3 separate regions of the Homo sapiens genome follow, and regions 1 and 3 are each linked to region 2. Evidence: promoter capture Hi-C in 16 types of primary human blood cells and fetal thymus (Javierre and others, 2016). All regions are on one chromosome and are shown on one strand. The core of a region is centred on a gene start or on the middle of the fragment in contact, and the rest is flanking DNA. Distances in the headings are between cores, read along the strand shown. Region 1 has its middle 80 kb from the start of RGS10. Region 2 holds the start of RGS10 (regulator of G protein signaling 10). Region 3 overlaps BAG3 (BAG cochaperone 3).

Evidence for each region. The method cuts DNA at HindIII sites, captures the fragments that hold promoters and counts their contacts. A CHiCAGO score of 5 or more calls a contact.
Region 1: a contact is called between a fragment that was not itself captured here and the fragment with the promoter of RGS10 in region 2, in 6 of 17 cell types (non-activated CD4 T cells, naive CD8 T cells, naive CD4 T cells and 3 more). The highest score is 10.7, in non-activated CD4 T cells.
Region 3: a fragment that was not itself captured here is called in contact with the fragment with the promoter of RGS10 in region 2 in 2 of 17 cell types (naive CD4 T cells and naive CD8 T cells); the score reaches 7.8 in naive CD4 T cells.

The regions. Positions count from the first base shown.
Region 1 is chr10:119,460,478-119,464,223 of GRCh38, forward strand. No RefSeq gene overlaps it. Among named protein-coding and RNA genes, the nearest start is that of RGS10, 80 kb to the right of the region's middle. RefSeq lists an enhancer at 1,735-1,984. The HindIII fragment of the contact is 4,863 bases long and covers 1-3,746 here.
Region 2 is chr10:119,541,422-119,544,939 of GRCh38, forward strand. RGS10 (regulator of G protein signaling 10) reads right to left here and starts at 1,298. Exons shown (of 5, transcript NM_001005339.2): 1 at 1,169-1,298. The coding sequence starts at 1,217. RefSeq lists silencers at 751-920, 971-1,710, 1,721-1,790, 1,841-2,000 and enhancers at 2,211-2,290, 2,553-3,061. The HindIII fragment of the contact is 10,649 bases long and covers 1-3,518 here.
Region 3 is chr10:119,654,821-119,658,356 of GRCh38, forward strand. The region is part of intron 1 of BAG3 (BAG cochaperone 3); the gene reads left to right. Among named protein-coding and RNA genes, the nearest start is that of BAG3, 5.2 kb to the left of the region's middle. The HindIII fragment of the contact is 765 bases long and covers 1,141-1,905 here.

The DNA of each region.
Region 1 (3,746 bases), core at 249-2,748, 81 kb before region 2:
ACCTCAGTGATGTGGCTGCTGGAGGATTCAGTGGGAACTCATGGGCCACCCAGCACAGAGGCCTTGGCTTTGAGCAGGGGCCTGGCCTTGACCTCACACCCATTCACACCCAGCCCTGCCTGGAGCCACACTCCAGCCAGGCCTGGAGCCTGGGGAAGAATCTGCTTACTGGGGGACCCTGTGGAATTGGACAGAGAGAAAGAGGGGCCGGCTGGCAATGAGGGTGGGATGAGGAAGGGGCTCTCCCAGGATGGAAGAATGGGGGTACTCATGGCCGAGGATTTGCCGACCAGGCGGGTAGCCCTCAAGGGCAGAAGATGCAGGGGTGGGGCAGGAAATGCTCTGATCTCAGAACAGGGATGGGGAGGACCTCCCCGCAGGGCCCAGCTCTGTCTCTGGGGCTTTCACCACTCCAGAAACTCCACTGTCCGAGCCAGCCTCCAGGCAGACAGAAGCTGCCGTCTCTCCTGGGACAGGTAGGGTATCAGTGGGAGAAACTCCAGCCCCACAGCTCCGGCCCCCCTCACCATTTACACTGCCCTGCCCAGCAGCTTTGGCCCCTTCCCAGGCAGATGGGCTGGGCTGGGCAGGAGGAGTACCCACCTCTTACCTCCTCCACACCTTTCAGGCCTGTGCCCGTCCTGTCCACACCAGACAACCGTGGATTTGGTGAGGGGACCAAAAGAGCCTCCATCTAACTCATTTTCAGGAAAGGCTCAAAGCCAGCATCCCTGGGCCCCAGAGAGCTCCAGGCCACAACCCCTGTGGGAGGCAGTCCTTAAAGCTGTTAGGATCCACCTGCCATATCCAGAGACCGTGAAGAGGAGGGAGAGCTGGGGCCCTGGGAACAGACCCTTGAGCCACAGCATGGCAGGGCTCCTGGTACCACTTTGCCCAGCAGTTTGCCAAGCCAAACATTGCCCAGGCCTGGGCCAGTTGTCATGGGGCCTTGGCTTGGCTATCTTGGGGGAGAGAGCAGGAAAAGCCCATTCAGCAGGCCATGGGGTGAGATCTAGAGTTTGCACTCTAGGGGCATCAACTACTGGCAGGTAAACCACAAGGCGCAGAAGGCTTGGGTCAGCACCTCTCATGCTTCAGGAGTTCTGACTCATTTGGAATCTTGATAAACTAGAATCTGATTCAGTGGGTGTGGGGTAGGGCACAGCCCGTGCTTCTGAGTGCTCCTGGGCGAAGCCACTGGTCCTCAGACAACACTTTGAGCAGAGAGGCCTTAGAAAGCCCCAAACCTGGCTGGGCACCATTTCTCACACCTAATCCCAGCACTTTGGGAGACTTAGGTGGGTGGATCACCTGAGGTCAGGAGTTTGGGACAAGCCTGGCCAACATAGTGGAATCCCAACTCTACTAAAACTATAAAAATTAGCTGGGTGTGGTGACATGCACCTGTAATCCCAGCTACTTGGGAAGCTGAGGCAGGAGAATCCCTTGAACCCTGGAGGTGGAGATTGCAGTGAGCTGAGATTGTGCCACTGCATTCCAGCCTGGGTGACAGAGTGAGACTCTGTCCCAAAAAAAAAAAAAGAAAGAAAGAAAGCCCCAAACCGGAATGGCAGGCTGGGTCTATAGTCAAACCAGGTCCTGTATTCTATGGTACAGAAGTTTTATTAATACTCACCAACATTTGCCCTGCCCTTGAGGGGAACTGATACCAGTAGTTTTCAAAGTCTGACACCCTCACCACTACAGGCTGCAGCAGCAGCCCTGTGAACTTCTGAGAGATCCAGGTTCCTGCTCCCCGTGCCAAGCCTATTGAGTTAGGAGTCTGGGTGGGACCTATGAACAGGACCCCCAGGTGACTGGGGTGCACACTCCAGTTTGAGGCCCACTGGTTTACAAAGCGCTTTCATCTCATTGAGGACGCTTAGGGCAAAGCAGCCACTGATCTTCCTGCCGATGGCTTTTCAGAGTCACAGAGGGCTGAAGAGAGTGAGGCTCTTACCTGCAAATGGAAGCAGGTGGGTACAATTGGCTACCACTGTTCTTAAACAAAAGGAAAGAGGATACGACATAGAATCCTACTGTCATATTTTTAATGAAAAGATAAACCAAAAAAAGGAAAAAAGTTACCTACAGGGAGAGGGAAGCCACCAGGGGAGGAGAGTGAGAGACAGATATAAAAGCCAGTCTGCTCAGAAATGTGCCTTGTCTTGTAGATTTGACTTTGCAAGCACACGTCAAATAAAACACAAATCCAGACTCAGTGGGGAGAGAACTATTTGAAAGATTTTTGCAAGGGAGGAAAGGGGCTACTGCAACAGGGGCTGGGATGGAGAGCACTGCAAAACGCAGAAGGCTTGACCATGCCATCTGCAAGGGTCTTGAGGGTTAGGCGAAAAGATGATCTCTTTTGTAGAAAGAACAAGGCTAGAAAGAGCCAGGTGTGGAAAGTGGGATGAAAGGGTGATGTGATTAGATAAATAGATCAGAAAATGTCACCCTGAGGCAGCCTCTGCTCTGGAGGGGCTGCCTGCAGGCTCAGGCTGAGTTGGTCAAAGTTCAGAGTCCAGGAAGAAGGAGTGAAACTTACCCAAGTCTGGCTAGCAAGCATTTTGTTTCCATGGATCAGTGGGAACAGGCCGTTCAGCTAATCATTTATGAGGCAAAGAATGGGAATTTGGAGGGTCTGTGTCTGGCCTTTCATAGATAAATAAGGGGGACATCCCTCGGCCTTATGGAAGTCTGATGTGGTTGTCTGTGTCCCCACCCAAATCTCGAATTGTAATTCCCATAATTCCCACATGTTGTGGGAGGGACCCAGTGGGAGGTAATTGAATCATGGGGGCGGGTCTTCCCCATGCTGTTCTAGTGATAGTGAATAAGTCTCATGAGATCTGTTGGTTTTATAAAGGGGAGTTCTGCTGCACACACTCTCTCTTGCCTGCCACCATGTAAGATGTGCCTTTGCTCCTCCTTGCCTTCCACCATGGTTGTGAGGCCTCCCCAGCTATGTGGAACTGTGAGTCTATTGAACCTCTTTCCTTTACAAATTACCCAGTCTCAGGTATGTCTTTATTAGCAATGTGAGAACAGACTAATACAAAGTCATATGGGGAAAGGTGGTTTTTTGCAGCATGTTGTTTTCCTGGAAAACAAAAATGTGAGGAGAATCTCTCGTTTTGGCTTTTTGTTGTTGTTTTGTTTTGTTTTATGAGACAGGGTCTTACTCTGTCACCCAGGCTGGAGTGCAGTGGTGCAATCATAGCTCACTGCAGCCTCTGACTCCTGGGCTCAAGCAATCTTTCCACTTCAGCCTCCAGAGTAGCTGGGATTACAGGTATGTGCAACCACACCCGGCTAACTTTTTTAAATTTTTTGCAGAACTGGGATCTCATTATGTTACCCAGCCTGGTCTTGAACTCCTGGCCTCCAGGGATCCTCCTGCCTCGGTCTCCCAAAGTGCTGAGATTACAGATTGAGCCACTGCACCTGGCAGGGGGAATTCCTTTAATCTTCACTGTTTTCCAGGAGCACCGGGCTCAAGTAAAATTCACTATTGTCATATGTAATATATGTTTTTGATAATTGTAAAACAAAACTAAAAATTTTTTATAGCAGCCCCTATAAACCAGAAGACAAATGGAAGAAACAAATCTGTTCATATGCAGGTGGTGGCATAATCACACAGAGACCATCCCCAAGTGACTTTAAGGCACAGAAATGTGACTGTAGGTTCCCAAAGAGGGGCATGCCCTAAAGACAAAAAGAGTTGCCAAAAAAATCTTAAG
Region 2 (3,518 bases), core at 48-2,547:
GATGGAAGACAGGTTCCAATTAAGTACTTTAAAAGGCGAGTAGCTACTGTTATTCCCACTGTGCAGAACCTCATTCTGCAGAAAGGTCCCACGGCTGGTGAATATGGCGAAGGTGAGATTCGGATCCAGCCAGTCTGGTCCCAGTCTCTAAACCACAATGTCCCTCATAAAATACCAGGAGCAGAAAGGAAATGCACCAACGCGTTGGGACTCTGAGCGCCAAGCAGAAGTGAATCTTGGCGTGGGAAGCCCGGCAAAGCCCCCGAACTTCAGAGTCAGGGGAACCTGGGTTTGAAAGCCTCCCCATCACCTGCGGAGTGTGACTGGGGCAAGTTACCTAACAGCGCCTGGCTTCCGCTCCCTCCTCACTCACCGGGTTGTCCTAGGGGTGAAGGGAGAGTTCACCCAACGCGGTGGACAAAGCCCTTGGCGCACCCAAAGGCCTGCACAGGTCGTAGCTATTGTGATGAGCAAAAGGGTGGAAGGACCGGAATCAAGGGCACGGCTCCACCTTCACCGTGGGGTCTTTGGCCTATCAAGTTGCCCGAGATCGTGGCTCAGGCTGGCCCAAAGTGACGGCCAAGGCGAATCCTTCGTAACGTCAGAACTTCGCTGGCTCGGACCGCAGAAGTGCCCTTCTCCATCCTGGGGTTCCGCCACCCTCGCGATCCCACCTTTTGGCTCCTCGCGGCAGAAGCGAAGGCCCCCGACGCCCCAGGCCCAGGGGCCCAGTCGGATGCCCGGGTCCAGCCGTGCTCCCCCGGGCGCTCGGCATCCTTCCACCCACGCCCGCAGCGGAGGCGGAGAGCGTCACGGAGGGAGAAGCCCGCGCGCCGTTCCGCTTTCGGAATCTGGAGCCCCATGTCACCTCCAAAGTTTGGAGATTTGGGGCGCTCCTTTTTCTCCCAGACCATCACTAAAAAGAAAACTGCGGCTGTTCCTCTTTCAGCCAAACTTCCTCCCCGGGGCTCCCGGAGGAGCTCTGCGCTCCCGTCGCGGCTGGGACCGCGAAGGTGCGGTACCCAGCGGGGAGAGGTGGTGCGGTCGGCCGGGGCTCCAGTCTGGGAGGTACCACCGAGCCGCGCCCGAGCACAAGAGGGAGGGCAGGAGGCCGGGCGGGCGAAACGGCGCCCCGACCCCGAGCCCGCGGGCCCCCGAAGCCGCTTACCTGACGGCGGCCGCTTCCTGCTCAGCCGGCTCACGGCGCGGTTGAACATCGCCGCGGGCGCCCGAGGAGGAAGAAGGAGCAGCCCGGCGGCGCGGCGGCTGAGCCGGAGGAAGGCGAGGAGGAGGAGGAGGGCGAGGAGGAGGAGGAGGAGGGCAAGGAGGAGGAGCGGGCTCAGCACCGCCCCGGAGCTCTAGGTCCCCGCCCGCCGCCCTCCTCCTAGCCAGGCGCCGCGTGGCGCGCTCAGTGCGCCCTGCCCGCCCCCGCTGGTGAGGACTCGCGGTTCCGCTCCGGGGTGCCCGGGCGGGGCAGGGCAGGGCAGCCCCGGGTGACCCCCGATCGCCCAGAGTGTGCCCCGCGCCTGGGATAAGGTGCACTGGCCCAGAGGGAGCCCGCGCCGCCGGGAACTTAGTAGCCCCGCGGAGGCGGTTAGCGCGTCCCGGGGTCCCTGGCCCTCGCCTGAGATGCCGCCCCGGCCCGCCCCGCCCAGCTTCAAGCTCCCGGGCCCATCGCGGTCTCCCGCCTTCTCCCTGTAGCCCCGGAGAAACTGGCACGGCGCCGCGGGCGCACCGCGCTTCGGGGCTCTCAGCGAGCCTTCGCAGGTGGCGGGCGGGGTCCCCTCCCGGGTCACAGGCTGGGAAGCCTAGGCCTCGCGGTTCTGCAGAGTCCGGGCGCGGCCCAGCCTGTGGCCTTTGCCTCCTCGTCACCAGGATCCCCGCCTGCTGGGGCCTGGCTGCTCCTCGACTTCGTGGGCGCTGCGCCTTCCCGCCCCGCGAATGCGGGTGGGGCGTCCCCAGGGCCCGTGCGCTGAGCTAGCCGAGCCGCCGCGGGTGGGCGCCCTCTCCCCGGCCGTGCCGCGCGGGCGCCAGGACTCGGGGAGATCTGAGAGGATTCTGCAGGAACCCCCCGGTTCCTGCGCCGGGCGGTGCTCTGTCCCGCACACCGCGCTCTCGGGACACTTCTCTAACTTTGGGGACACGTGGGCACTGCCTCTGGCAGGGCCTTCAGGCTCCACGACCGGGACCACTCAAGCCCCCACGGCGTCACCTGCTGGGCGCTGCGCGCTCTACGGTCTCCTATTATTTCATTTCTTCTATGGAGCAGCCCCAGAGGGGATGTCATTAGCCCCCATTTTCTTGAACATTTGGTTTGCAAGAAATTGTCTTTCTGGCGAGTTTTATTTTTCTCCTTGTGTATCTGGCTTTGTCTCTAAATTGGTCTTTATTTTTAGCTGTACTAATTGCTATTTTTCCAAACCGTTCCCCAGTCGCCCTCCCCCCATCCCCCCGTCCTTTTGCAGTTTTTTTCACTACTTGGCACTTTCTTTTGTATCTTCTATTCTGAGCTTCCAGTTCTGCTCACTTTCCCTCTCCCTCTACCCACCCCACAGCCCCAGTTGCACCCCAAGTGTGGCCGGTGGTTGCTTGTTGTTTCCCTCCCCGCTATTCCCCCTCCAAAAGTCGTTTTCCTCCGAGCATTTCCAAGCACTCTCCCCCTTCTGCTGCCAAAAGAGGATTTCCAGGCTCCTGAAGCGAACGCGGTGACCAAGAACAGGGTTAGACCCAGCGCGGGGAGTTCTGCTTTTAAAACTGCTGTTGTTGGCCTACTCCGGGCCCAGACAAACTTCCATCTCATTGTAATGGGATCAAGCTGTGATACTTAACTATAGGCAAGAGTTTCACCTTTCGTAAGAGCGGGATTTTAAATGCTGGCAGAGTCCTGGATCCAAGTGAGGTCACTGCGTTCTTAAAACAATAAGGGAATTGGTGCAACGCACTCACCCAGAAAACTTCCCCGAGACCAAATTACAAGTAATCCTAAGACAGGAAATAAGCACACTGGCACACAGGGGTAAAAGTTAGGCACAGCAGCTCAGTGTTTTGCTAGTTGCCAAGTCCACCCTAGCGTGTCCTGAAAAACACTGGTGTGGCTTAAGACATGCTATGAATCCCTCCTGAGCTAAGAACCCCAGGCATCTCTTAAATAAAGGGAAAATATAACAGCCTTAAATCACTTTTACTGTCCTGTTAGCACATCAGAGAGTAAGTACAAAAATTAAGATGCATAGTTAGGGCCAGGCGCTGTGGCTCACGTCTGTAATCCCAGCACTTTGGGAGGCAGAGGCAGGCGGATTACCTGAGGTCAGGAGTTCAAGACCAGCCTGGCTAACATGGTGAAGCCCCATCTGTACTAAAAATACAAAAATTAGCCAGGCCTGGTGGCAGGTGCCTGTAATCCCAGCTACTCAGGAGGCTGACACAGAAGAATCACTTGAGCCTGGGAGGAGGAGGTTGCAGTGAGCCAAGATCTGAAGGAGGAGGTTGCAGTGAGCTGAGATCTCACCACTGCACTC
Region 3 (3,536 bases), core at 273-2,772, 110 kb after region 2:
CCAGGCCTCCTTGGGATGAGAGGGAGACCTTCCTCCCTCATGGAGCAGGGCCGCTCTAGCTCCATGGATCTTGGGGGTTACCAGTCTGGCACTCTCCAGGGAGTCCTGTTAAGAACACAGATTGTGGCTGTGTCTCATCGCCTCCCTGCCCCAACCCCATGTTCAAATCTGAATTGCTCAGTGTAGGGCCCAGAAAACTATTAAGTCCAGAAAGCTTTTTTGGTGGTTCTGATTCTGCTGCACTGGCAGTGGGAGCCACGGATGGCCAGTGATCCCATTTTGGGGAGGAGGAGCTGCGGCTTAGTGCCTCCTGAACATCTATCCTGCAGAGCATTTTCCCAAGCCTCCATTTTCCTTCTTGGGGAAACTCCCCAGGTACGCGGGCTTCTGGAGGTGTGAATATGGGGATGACATGGGAAGCGAGCCGAGACAGCACCTTGCAAAGTCTGGCAGGGTGGCTGGCAGTGCGAGAGTGGGGAGGTGGTCCAGAGATCTTCCTGGACCCCAGGAAGAAGCAAGCCAGAGCCTTTTCTTTTTGTCTTGCCCATCTGGCAGAATCTCACCATAATCATTTAACAGATTATACTCAGGCACTGTGACAGGGAGATAGAAACATCCTTTCAGATAACACTGGAAATGTTTCGAGTTATGATTGAAGTAGAGAGACCCATTTATTTTGCTTAAGGTTCAGCAGAGCCTCCTGAATTTTCTTAAAGATGAGATCGTTTTGCTCTTTCCAGATCTATTGCAAGCTGTTATGCCTCTTAGCAGAGGCGGAGCACAATCAGGAAATGAGTGGCCGTTCTCTCCTTCGTATTTCCAGCAAGTTGCAGTTGTGGCTGAGCAAGTTCCTGTGCGACTGCATGAAAGTGATTTGTTGGGGGGCAGATGAACAGCATGGCCAGATGCCTTGGAGCCCAGCTCATCCAGGACTTTCATTTTCCCCTCTGAAGAACAGCCTGTGTTGTTCACATGAGAACCGACTGCACCTCCGAGAACATCATTTGTCCCGTTTTGTAGGGTAGATTTGCCCTTTATGAGGGTGGAGCCTGTACACAGGACCTGCGGCAGCGTTTGACGTTGGCCAGGGCTGGGAAGGCTTAACTGTTGGATGCTATCAGGGCTGCTTGTGAGTCAGAAAGCTTCATACCACCCATGAGGCTTGCTTAGTGCTGTCCTCGTTTCTGGAATGACACACAGTCACCTTATATAAACCACTCTACATGTTTATTACTTTCTATTGACATTTAAAAATGATGTTCTGATGTTTATCATCCAAAGTAGAAAACCATTCATCATCCAGACCTACTCTTTCTCCTTTAAGTTTTGCTGTTTTAATATTGCTCTTAAATGTTTAAGAGAGCTTACAGAAGAAACTGAAGACAAAGGCCTTGCTTATTAGGATCTTTGAGACCCTCTGGCACTGGCGAACACGAGTGAACCCTGTGTCACACTTGACCGTGTTATTCTCCAGCCCCTCCTGGGTTCCCTTTTGTTGTGAGTCAAGTAGACACCTCTGATCTGCTTCTGCCTCAGAGCATAGACTCAGCTGGCCTTCTTTTTTTTTTTTTTTTTTTTGAGACGGAGTCGCACTTTGTCTCCCAGGCTGGGGTGCCGTAGTGCGATCTTGGCTCACTGCAACCTCCGTCTCCTGGGTTCAAGCGATTCTCCTGCCTCAGCCTCCCAAGTAGCTAGGATTATAGGTGAGCGCCACCATGCCCATCAGCCGGCCGTCTGAGGCAGGCTCCAGAGCCCCTTGTTTTGCAGGTGCAGGATTCATCTGTATGCATCATGTGGCACATGTGATACCATGTGAGGTATCTGGTGTTACTAAGTCGTCACGTATTTCGATGAAGGTATCTTTGGGACCTTGGCAGCCTTTTAGGAAGCCAGGCAGCTTGCAAAAGCTTAGGAAGAATTTGGGGGGAGAGGAATGAATGTAGTATTTTTCTGTCTGTCAACACACACACATATATATATATATGTGCCAGATATGAGTGGGTGCTTTTGGTAACCTTATCTCTAAATCCTCACCAGCTCTTTGAACTAGAAACTATGAAGTGTCTTACACATGGGACAGCAGATTTGGAGAGGCAGTGTGCCTGGCCTGTGATAAACAGAAAGACTTCTGTGGCTTTACCCCCATCTGAGTTCCTGAAGGGGTGACAGACAGACTTGCCTTTAGCGGGCCTGGCTGCTTTATACTCCCCAGGCACGGCTGCTTTATACTCCCCAGGCACAGCTTGAGGTGATAAACAGCCCTGAGTCCATCTTTGTATAGTTAATCAGAAATGTTGGCCTGTTTCTTGAACCTGGGTCTGGATTTAGGAGATGGGCCCGACTCTTTACTCACTCCTTTACCCCATCTGAAATTCACTGAGTGCCCACAGTGTGCGAGTCACAGTGTTAAATGCCATATAGAGGACAAGTCTGCCCACTTTGAGACTGTTCTCCACAAAGCATGTCCTGCCTCTCCCTGGTCCGAAGCAGGCTGTCTCTCTTCTGGAACCCATATTATTTTAATTTGAATCTTTTTGCTTAAGCTCTGCACTTTTCTGCTTTGTCTTGGGGTCACACCCCTGTTAGGAGTTCTGGGGCAGAGTCTGTGTGCTTCATCGCTGCCTCTTGATGCCTGGCAGGGTCCACAGGCTCAGAAAAGATGGAACGAGTGACTGTGGAGAAGGGTAGAACATGGGCCTGCCCAGAGCGCGAAGGCAGATACAGAAGAGCTGCCCGTGAAGGATGCAGGTGTGTCCCGGGAAGCCTTCCATTGGTTCCTAAGAACTGCAGAGTTGTCCTGGGCTCCTAAAGGTCCCCAGAGGCCTGCTCCTTTTTGTCACTTTGTGAATGGCCTTCTCTGCACAAAGGACTTCAGTATTGATTCCCTAAGTTCATCCTTACAGGTCTGGAGAAGCTCTTTTTTGTTTCTCCCAATGACACAGCATCTTACAGCAGGGCTGGAGAGGCTGGGAGCTGGCAGCAGCCAGACCCTACTTCCATAGCTGTGCAGAGAGCAGCCCCTGGCACTGTGAAAAGAGTCTCTTAAAAATTTTTTTTCGTGTGGCTGGCAGCAAGATCAGACACCGTATACGTGAAGGTTCTTATTCACTGTCAATTCAGAAAAGCCTAGAATCGCAGAGTGCCAGCTCTGTGCGTCAGGAGCCTGTAAACAGCTCAGCTGTCCAAGAGCTCCCAGCACAGAGCTGTGCCCCAGTGAACTGGGGAGACTTTTTACGGAAAATTCCTTAGCATTCAATTGGAGAACAAACGTTTGCTGTTTTAAAGTATCTTCCTCAGTGTTTATTAAAGTAGAATTATATATTTTTTTCAGTTATTTAAAAAATTCTTCCTTGACATTGAATGAATGAATAAATGAATGGATGGTTTAAAAATTCATACAGTGGGAGGATGGGAAGGCCCCTTCATGTGCAGAAGAAAAGCCAGCCCCTTCGCTGGCCCACCCTTTCAGGGTCAGTTCAGACCCCCAGCATCCCAGCGGGGTTAGCACTCCTTCCTGGGTTGGACGGTGTCTTCCC